2 separate regions of the Homo sapiens genome follow, and region 1 is linked to region 2. Evidence: promoter capture Hi-C in 16 types of primary human blood cells and fetal thymus (Javierre and others, 2016). All regions are on one chromosome and are shown on one strand. Each heading gives the region's core, a stretch centred on a gene start or on the middle of the fragment in contact. The rest is flanking DNA. Distances are from core to core; before and after follow the strand shown.

Region 1 (4,836 bases), core at 1,427-3,926, 95 kb before region 2:
ATATGTTCCAAACATGAAAGATCAAACAGATGGCTTGAAATAAGAATCCCTCCTTTAAGACAGATCAATTAAGTGTTTATTAAGTATTTACTATGTGTCTGGCACTATGCTAAATATTATGAAATACTAAAGAAGGTGACTTTAAGCTGCTTTTGGTCTAGTTAGAAGAAAGGACTGCTCAGATGAAACTTATAAATTGGGAAGACATATAATCAAGCACCAAGTAAAATACCATCACTTATGTGGTTCAAATATTGACATAGCCCTTTTTTTTAGAAATGATTTTTAATGATTGTCTAGAACAGTGATTCTTAGCTAGAGGTAATTTTGCCCCCCAAGAGGATATTTGGCAATGTCTGGAGACATTTTTTATTATTACACCTGGAGTTACTAGCATCTAGTGGATAACCAGAGATATTGCTGAATAACTTCCAGTGCACAGGATAGCCCGTCACAACAAAGAATTATCTGGTCCAAAATAACAATAATACTGAAATTGAGAAAACCTGATGTAGAACCTACAAATGTCAATGCTGTTAAGCTTCAAAGTTACAGGAATGGACTTTCATCTTCCCCCAGGCTAGACCTCTTCAGCTCCTATAAATGTTCTTTACCTTAAGCTCTTGGATCATTACACAGAGATGATCTTTGGATAGTCATAAACCTCCTGAACATTGGATGCAAGTTTTTCCAGTACAGTGTTAGAGTCCATAACTTTTATCAAAATCTCATGCTATCCATCCCTCCAAAAAAGGTTGAGACACATCAACCCAGTCCTCTAGTCACCTAAGAGACAACAACATAGAACCCTCCTTAGCATCATGGTGATTCAGAAGTAGAGCTTGGATCAAAATCAGAAAATAACTTTTTTGGTGAAAAAATTTCTATATTAGTTTAGTATTTTGAAGTAATACAATCTTAATGCATGAGGAAATTATAGTAGAATACTTCAAAGAGTATTATTTAAACATCATGTAATAATACAACACTGTACATTTAAAATTTTAGACTGAACTGATTGTGTGCTGACCTATGGGCAGAATACATAAATTATTTTGTTCTTTGAAATCAACTTGTTTTATCAGAATTTGCTGCTTTCTCTCAAATGAACATCCCAGTTTACATTTCTTAGGTGCTGTTTATCTGTTGAATCAGAGATCTAAACATGGTTTTATATTACACATTTCTCCTGAAAACTGTTTACTAAATGAATTATGTTTTTCTCATAAGAAACATTTTTGAATTGAGAATTGTGTTCTGATTTGGCATCCTGTAAGTTAGAGATCCTAACAGCAGTATGTCATAAAAACAAATCTGTGTTACCTTGAGTGTGCATATAGGTTAACATTAATACTTTTCTAAGCTATAGAAATTTGGAGATTAATTCTTGGGTTAAAAACCAAGGAAGGTCTTAGAGATCTGTTTCAGCTGTTTCAAACTGTTGGTTGAAGCTCAAGGCCCAAAAGCAGTGTTTTTAGTTGTTTTATATATTTTTACTTTTACCAAATGTTTTGAGGGGGGGAAATCAGTGCACGTGGGAGGAAAGGGTTGCATACTTCTGATCTAAACCATTCATTTTGCAGATAAGGAACCAGAGGCCCAAAGTTTTAGATTTTATTCTTGGGCCATATATTTCTTCATTCTGTAGGTCAAACTAGCATTTTAGATGTATCTGATAATAGAAGAGAGGATGACCAGGAATTCAAAATTTAGCTGTGCAGCTTCCTACCTCCATGTTCTTAGACAAATTGCTAAATGTTCTCAGTCTGTATATACTCATCAACAAAAGAGAACTGTATTTAGTATCGTTTCTACTTTCTTAGAATTTAGAATGTATCTGAGAAGATGATCTGGTTTGATGATGTCTCTTTTTTTAATGAATTTTGTGTCATCTAAATATTTAAAGATCCACCCAACTATGTCCTCTAAACACTACTACAAAATAAAAAACATCTTTATTATCAAAGGGGACAGCACAGTATTTACATTTCCTTTACTTTGGCAATAATGAGGGTCTTTGTAAATGGATAGATCAGCCTTAGGGCTTTTTCTCCCACCTTGTTACCCCCTCTAGTTATTGCATAAGATACCTAGAAACGTGAATCGGGAACAGCAGACTATAGGAAGAAAGACCTTTTGAGATGAAATATAAGAGCAAATAGCAGCATTGAAAGAGCTAAACCATATGATGAAATGGAATCTGAACTTGGTGGTCCTTCTGATCTTTTCTATGAGGCCTCACAGAATGCTTGAGAAAAGATTGAGAATCCTTTGCTCATGGGATATTTCAACAGGGATTCCTTACTAAACAATTTTTGTTCAAAACCTGTAGTTTGCAGAGAACATAGGCTTTCACTTGGATGACAGAAGCAAGTGGGGATAATTAAAGACAAGAAAAGCCACTTGTCTTTTGCTACAAAAATTAATTAGTATCCTGAGAAGAATTAGTTCAGAAGTTTTCTTAGCATCTCAAAACAGAAAAGTTTAGAGAAATGAAGGCTGAGCCTAAATACAGTATTTTTCTTTAGTGGCTTGACCATGTATCAAGTTGCTAGGTTTGTTTGTTGGTTTGTTTTGATTTTGTTTGGTTAGGTTATTGTTGTTTGTTATTAGGAAATAACTTTTATAGAAGTTGGTCCTATGTCACTGTATGATATTGGGGTATTACAGATATTTACCATTGCATGTTATCTTTGTTACTCTATTAAATATGCATAAATTATATTTGTCTTTATAAATTATATGTTTAAGTGATTGCCAGACAATAAGACATTTTAAGCTAAACTATTTGGATTTTTCCTCAGGTCTTAAAGAAAGTGCAGAAGAGATGGTCAAAAACAAATTGGAAGGAAAGGATAAACTGACCCCTTGGGAACAATTTTTAGAGAAGAAGAAAGAGAAAAAAAGACTGAAAAGGAAACAGAAGGTATCATTGATAATTATGACCAAATGTTTGTTGAATACCAACCATATATCAGATGGTACCAGGTGCTTGGAATCCATTATCTCAAAATGTAACCACTCACTGAAGTAGGCCTTGTTATCATCCCAATTTTAAGAAAGAGGAAAGTGAGAATGCAGAAAGTTTTTTCATCATGGCCACATAATGGTGTACAAAGCCTGGTCACAGTCCAGAGCCACTTCAACTGCTGCATTCTGACATTTTACATTTACATGCCACCTACGTAAAACACATAGTTAATATCTAGATATAAGCAGTATGATTCTGTTCTGTGTTTCTGAGCAAAAGAGGTACATACAGACATTTTTCCTTGAGGATATATGCACATAGAGGTTTTTAACATGAGTGAAATTATGCCATACTTTCCATCTGTCAACCTGCATTTTCACCTTACAGTATTATCTTATGGCTCATCTGTCACCTTATTGTCATTAAATTCCTTTATCAAGAGTATTTCCTGGCTGGGTGTGGTGGCTTATGCCTGTAATCCGTGCACTTTGGGAGGCCAAGGCAGGTGGATCACCTGAGGTCAGGAATTCAAGACCAGCTTGGCCAACATGGCGAAACCCTGCCTCTACTAAAAATGCAAAAATTAGGTGGATGTGGTGGCGCGCACCTGTAATCCCAGCTACTTGGGAGGCTGAATTAGGAGAATCGCTTGAACCCAGGAGGCAGAGGTACAGTGAGTCAAGATCGTGCCACTGCACTCCAGCCTGGGCGACAGGGCAAGACTCTGTCTCAATAAATAAATAAATAAATAAATAAATAAATAAATAAATAAGAGTATTTCCTCTGTGTTAATGTGGTTTCTGTGGACAATATGATTTGACTCATGTTGTTCAGGGAATAGCATCTTTTCCAGAGTTTTCCAGAGTCCTCAGTAATAGTACAGATCACTTAGGTTTTTGCCACTAAAAGTGCTCTTGTGACTGAAATGCAGCATTCTGGAAGTGGTGTGCCTTAGAGCGTTATTACTGATAATGACAAAATTTTGCAGCTTGGGGAATCTTAAAATTATTAATTCTAGTCCAGCCCTGTTTTATAGTTGTAAAAAAAATTAGCTGATTAGTCTGAGGTTACATAGCATACCAGTGGCCAAGCTGAGACCAGAATCCACAGTTACTCAGACCAGTGTTCTTTCTTCTGTTCCCCACTATACTGTTTCTATACTGTGTGTTCTTATAATGCTTTTGGTATAGCTTTGACTTTTAGTGCTGTGACGGGTAGAGAGATGCAAAGCTGAATGATGCAGTGGAGTAATTTTTATACTTCTATTGTAGTCAGTGTTTGTGGAAATGGATAGTAAAATGGAGAAATTGGGTGTTTTGGGAAAAACTCTTTCTGACTTTGTTTTTCCTCTGCTGTCACACTACAACTATCAACACAGAAGAAGACTTCTGTGACCAAATGGGTAGGGAGTTTTCTCCACACACTAACCAGTGGACACCGGCTGGGTGACCTCCAATTCCAACACTACCTGGAGATAGTGTCAGATCCCATAGATTGGGGGCTCGGTCCCCAAGACTGCCTCCACCCTTTCAGACACCAGTCTGAAGTCTGGACATCCAGAACTTCTGATTGACTGGCTTCAAGTTGGGGTTCCCACGACCCCCTCTTTAGGTTCAATTAATTTGCTGGAGTGGCCACAGACCTTAGGGAAACATTTACACACATTTGCTGGTTTATCATAAAGGATATTACAAAGGATACAGAGGAAATAGGGTAAGGTATGGGGGAAGGGCTGTGGAGCTTCCATGCCTCCCTGGGCGCTCCACCCTCCAGGAACCTCCATGTGTCCAGCTATCCAGAAGCTCTGTGAACTCGTTTCTCGGGTTTTTATGGAAGCTTCATGATGCCAGCATTCCTTCCCCACA
Region 2 (5,135 bases), core at 1,450-3,949:
GTCTTAAGCAGGTGAATTGGTGTTAACTTGCGGCACAACAATTGAAAACTATCACTATTGTTCTGCTACATTTCTGACACATGTGTTAAAGCAATAGTTTTCCAGGAATACAAAACAAAGGGAGACCCCCAGGGAACCAGGACAGAGGGGGCTTACTTAGAGTACAAAGATCAAGATGCAGCAGACATGATTATTTGAGATAAAGGAAGTAATTCCTCAGCTTGCTGCTTTTCCGGGTTTGGGAGAGGTGGGAACAGGAAGAGGGAGGCAACCAGATTTTTTCTGAAGGAGATTTACTAGTATAGACTTTCCTTTCAAATTTAACATGTTGAGTTAATCAAATAGATATTACAACTGTTCGTTATTAATATTTCAAAGGATCTCATTGTTACTGTACCCAATGCAGGTTAAAAATGTTAAAACTTGGGTCTGGGCTGGGCATGGTGGTTCATGCCTGTAATCCCAGCACTTTGGGAGGCCGAGATGGGTGGATCACCTAAGGTCAGGAGCTCGAGACCAGCCTGGCCAGCATGACAAAACCCCATCTTTACTAAAAAGACAAAAATTAGCCGGGCGTGGTCACGGGCACCTGTAATCCCAGCCACTGGGGAGGCTGAGGCAGGAGAATCACTTGAACCGGGGAGGCAGAGGTTGCAGTGAGCTGAGATCGCACCACTGCATTCTAGCCTGGGCAACAGAGTGAGACTCTGCCTCAATAATAATAATAAAAAAAAGGGTCCGAAGAATTTTGTTACTTTTACTTGAGCAGTATTCACCTACCAGAGGATGGCCTGTGTGGCATCTGGGTGTGATACCCAAGACAAAAGTATACAGAGCAGCACTGGGAGATGATTATTACAATGTAGTTAAATTCCAGGAAGAATGTTGCCTAAGAAATGGAAGGGAGCATGTCTATGTCTTTTTAAAACTTTAACATCTTTCTTTTATTCCTGCTGGTTCCAGTTAATATTGCTGTGTAAAAATCCACTTTAAAGGTGCAAAAGAACAACTATTTTATTATGCTGATGGATTCTGCGGGTGAGGAATTCAGAAAGGTCACAATGGGGATGGTTTATGTCTGCTTCCTAATGCCTGGGCCAAACTTTCTGGCACTATATAACAAGGGCCCCATTTTCTCCAGCTTCCAATAACATCTTCCTTAGCTCCCTTTAAGCCCTCATTGGCAGCTTCCTCAAGTCCTTTTAGACTCTTGTTAATACTTTGGATCCCTTCCTGCTCTTGCTGCTTCACCTAGTTCCAAAGCCAGTGCCACACGTTTTACTTTTATGATGTTATTATGTTATGTTTTGTTATAATATCCATCCTACTTCTAGGTAACAAAATCGGTTTCAGTTACTATTGCTATGTAATAAACTGTTATTCTTACTATGTAATAAACTTCTTCCCCTTGCCCCTCCCTAAGAAGTCAGTGGTAGAAGAGAAAGAAAAAAAGCCCCAAGTTACATAATAAAACCACATAGGTTATATTTATAATAATGGTATCAGTGGTTCTCGAACTTTTTGGTTTCAGCATACCTTTATACTCCCCAAAATAGTAGAGAACACTCCAAAGCTTTTGTTTCTGTGGGTTACATCTATTAATATTTACTATATTAAAAATTGAATACAAAGCTGAAATGTGGCTGGGTGCGGTGGCTCACGCCAGTAATCCCAGAACTTTGGGAGGCCAAGGCAGTAGGATCACCTGAGGTCAGGAGTTCGAGACCAGCATGGCAAACATGGTGAAAACCCGTCTCTACTAAAAATACAAAAAATTAGTCGGGTGTGTATCGAGCGCCTGTAATCCCAGCTACTCAGGAGTCTGAGGCAGGAGAATCGCTTGAGCCCGGGAGGCAGAGGTTGCAGTGAGCCGAGATCGTGCCATTGCACTCCAGCCTGGTTGACAGAGTGAAACTCCATCTCCAAAAAAAAAAGAAAAAAACCAACAAAAAACTGAAATGTTAAAAAGTTATTTAAAATAACAATAATAAACCATTATGTGTTAATATAATTAAGACATTTTAATGAAGAATAAATATTTTCCAAAAACAAAAAAATGTGGTAAGAAAAGTGTTATCTTTTGCATTAGTGTAAATTCCTCTATAGCTGGCTTAAAGAAGCCAGTTAGATTCTCATTTCTGCCTTTACATTCAGTTCGACGTGATGTTTTGGTGGAAGTATAAGGAAAATCCATCAGTCATGGGTCATCAAAACCCATGACTGGGTTTCGGTCTTACATCCTAGCCGATAAAAGACCGCCTACACTCCTTCCCCCTGGGCAAGGCTCGTGCCCCAACTCCTACAAGCAATGCAGGCTGAACCTTAGTTTTCCCTACCGTCTAACAGTGCTCTAAGGATTGAAAGAAAGTAACTCTTAAGCGACACCTAGATAAAATGATGGTCAGTTTAATTTCATTTCTCATCACAGTATTAGTCAATCAACCACTCAGATATAATCACATCCTGCGGGCTTATTCAGGGGCGGGGTGGGTAGAGATAAGCAATAGCGCATGCGCAGCTCAGAACGAAGCCCCAGGTGGAGTTAGCGCTGCACCTCTGAGGCCAGGTGAGCCGCTCCGAAGCGGAGGGCGGAGTCAGAGCCGCTTGTGGGAGGCTGCTTCCGACCACGTGGTACCCCGAATGACCAATGGGGAGACTTGATGTCAGCCCCGCTTCCTCACCCTGGCAACGGGCGGGTGACTACTTCCGGTGCAGTGAAGGCTCGGGGCTGAAGCGGGTGAGTGTCCCTCTTTCCCACGCTGTCCGCGCCGCTGCCGCCTCCGCGCTGCTGCCTCTGTGTGTGGGCCCCGTACGCTAGCTGGGACGTCCTCTCCGGGTCCGAGAGGGGGCGGCGCGCAGGACACCCCTTGCCCCGGGCGGGGCTAGAGGAGGGGGCCAGGATGTCCCTAGTTCCCTAGTCTTGGTCGCTCTAGGCGGCCCCGTCGTCCCCCTTCCCAGCCTCATCTCCGGCTTGGCGTCCTCGTGGCCACCGGGGAAGTACTGTCTGTATGTGGGGAGTTCTCGCAGTTCTTCACCCACTTTGCAGTCTCAGGCTGGAGATGTCTCAGAGTCCGAGGTTCGCAGACAGCCGAGAATGTGCGCCTTGTCCTGGGTGGCGGGTTGGGGGTAAGGCAGCCCCTTACTTAGTAATAGAGGCCTGATGAGAGTCCTGCGGGTCGTTAGCACTTACTACTCAGGGGGAGGAGGAGGAGGAAGAAGAGGAGGAGGAAAGGACCGAGAAGATGGAGCAGCTGGAGAGGAGGGGGGGAAAGCAGGAGCTAGAGATGTCCTGGAAATCGAGGGTATCGTGTTTCCGGAAGGAGAGAGTTCAACTTTCCTGGCTTCTGTAGGGGAGGGGAAGGAAAGGTGTGTTAGGGGCCATTAGATTGCTGAATTATTATTATTCTTTATTAGCGAAGGAATTTTTACTTATATTCTTAGGAGTTTAATAATTTATCTTTTTTGTTGTAAATAAAACTTTTCCCCACCACTTACAAAAAGCAGTGCTTACTAAGGAACATCTGGAAAATGCAGAAATAGTTATGAAGAGATCACCTATAGTTCTGCCAACCCAGCATTTTGATCTTTTTTCTAATATTTTATTCATATTAACCTATTTGTGATCATAATGTATGCGTGTAAAATACGGTTATAACTAAGAGGCATAGTTACATACATTGTGTTCATTGCACGGATAGATTGTCTTTTTTCCTCTTGAGAAAGTCTTATTAAGGTATTCATGCACCATAAAATTTATTCTTTAAAATTGTAAATTTCAGTGCTTTTTCTCATATCGCAAAGTTGTGCACCCATCACCACTATCTACTTTCAGAACATTTTCATCACCCCCAAAAGAAATCCTATACTCATGACAGTCACTCCCCATTAGATTCTCTGCTTTCTCTCCCAGGCCTTGTAACCACTAATCTACTTTCTGTATCTATGGATTTTCCTATACTGGCATTTCATATAAATGGAATCATAGAATATATGGCCTCACTTGTCTGGTGTCTTTCAGTTAGTATGTTTTCAAGGTTCATCAATGTCTGTGTATCAGTATTTCATTCTGTTTTATGGATGGGTAATGTTCCATTGTGTGAATATGCCACATTTTGCTTAACCATCATCGGTCGATGGACATTTAGGTTGTTTCTACTTTTTGGCTATTTTGAATAATTCTGCTATAAACATCTGTGTACAAGTTTTTGTATGGACATACGTTTTCAGTTCTCTTGAGTATATACCTAGAAGTGGAATTGGTGGGCATATGGTAACTCTATGTTTAACTTTTTGAGTGAGTGCCAAATGTTTTCCAAACTGGTTGCACCATTTTACATTCCCACCAGCAGGTTATAAGGGTTCTGATTTTTTCATATCCTTGGGAGCACTTATCTTTCTTTTTGGTTATAGCAGTCTTAGTGCTTATAAAGTGGTAGCTCATTGTAGTGTTGATTTGCATTTCCCTGATGGCTAATAATGTTGAGCATCTTTTAATGTGCTTATTGACCCTTTGTATATCTTTGGAGAAATGTCCATTTAATTCCTTTGCCCATTTTTAAATTGAATTGTCTTATATTAAAGTTGTATGAGTTCTTTCTATATTCTAAATGTAAGTCCCTTTCCAGATACATGATTTGCAATATTTTCTTGCGTTTTCTCCCATTTTATGGGTTGTCCTTTTACTTTCTTGAATGGTGTCCTTTATCTACTTAGAATTTTTTTTTCAAAGACTTGTCAAGTGCAATAGGGAGGATATTTAGAGTTAATTTTTCTGTATGATGTGAGGTAGGAGTTCAGTTTCATTCTATTGCATGTGGCTATCCAGTTCTAGCATCATTTGATGAAAGGACTGTCCTTTCCTCCATTGAATGGTAGAAACCATTTCAACACTCTTGTTGAAAATCAGTTGATCATAAAAGTGTAGGTTATTGTTTTCTTAACCGTTTTTCTGTATTGGACATTTAGGTTGCTCCCAGATTTTTGTTATTCTAAATTATCCTGTGTTAAACATGGTATAAAAGGCATAAAACCTTTTCTCTATTTAGTTATTTTGGTAGAAAGTTTTCTCAGAAGTGGAATTACTGGTTAGAAGATGAATTTAAGTATGTCCTGGAGTTCATTTAATGAGGCATTAA

The links. Contacts are between HindIII fragments. The CHiCAGO score rates a contact against its expected background, and 5 or more counts as called.
Region 1: a contact is called between a fragment that was not itself captured here and the fragment with the promoter of TASP1 in region 2, in 1 of 17 cell types (total B cells). The highest score is 6.1, in total B cells.

The regions. Positions count from the first base shown.
Region 1 is chr20:13,731,811-13,736,646 of GRCh38, reverse strand. It overlaps ESF1 (ESF1 nucleolar pre-rRNA processing protein), which reads left to right. Exons shown (of 14, transcript NM_001276380.2): 10 at 2,805-2,926. Among named protein-coding and RNA genes, the nearest start is that of ESF1, 51 kb to the left of the region's middle. The HindIII fragment of the contact is 4,266 bases long and covers 544-4,809 here.
Region 2 is chr20:13,636,496-13,641,630 of GRCh38, reverse strand. TASP1 (taspase 1) reads left to right here and starts at 2,699. Exons shown (of 14, transcript NM_017714.3): 1 at 2,699-2,737. RefSeq lists a silencer at 2,799-2,948 and enhancers at 3,139-3,228, 2,842-3,342. The HindIII fragment of the contact is 10,129 bases long and covers 1,576-5,135 here.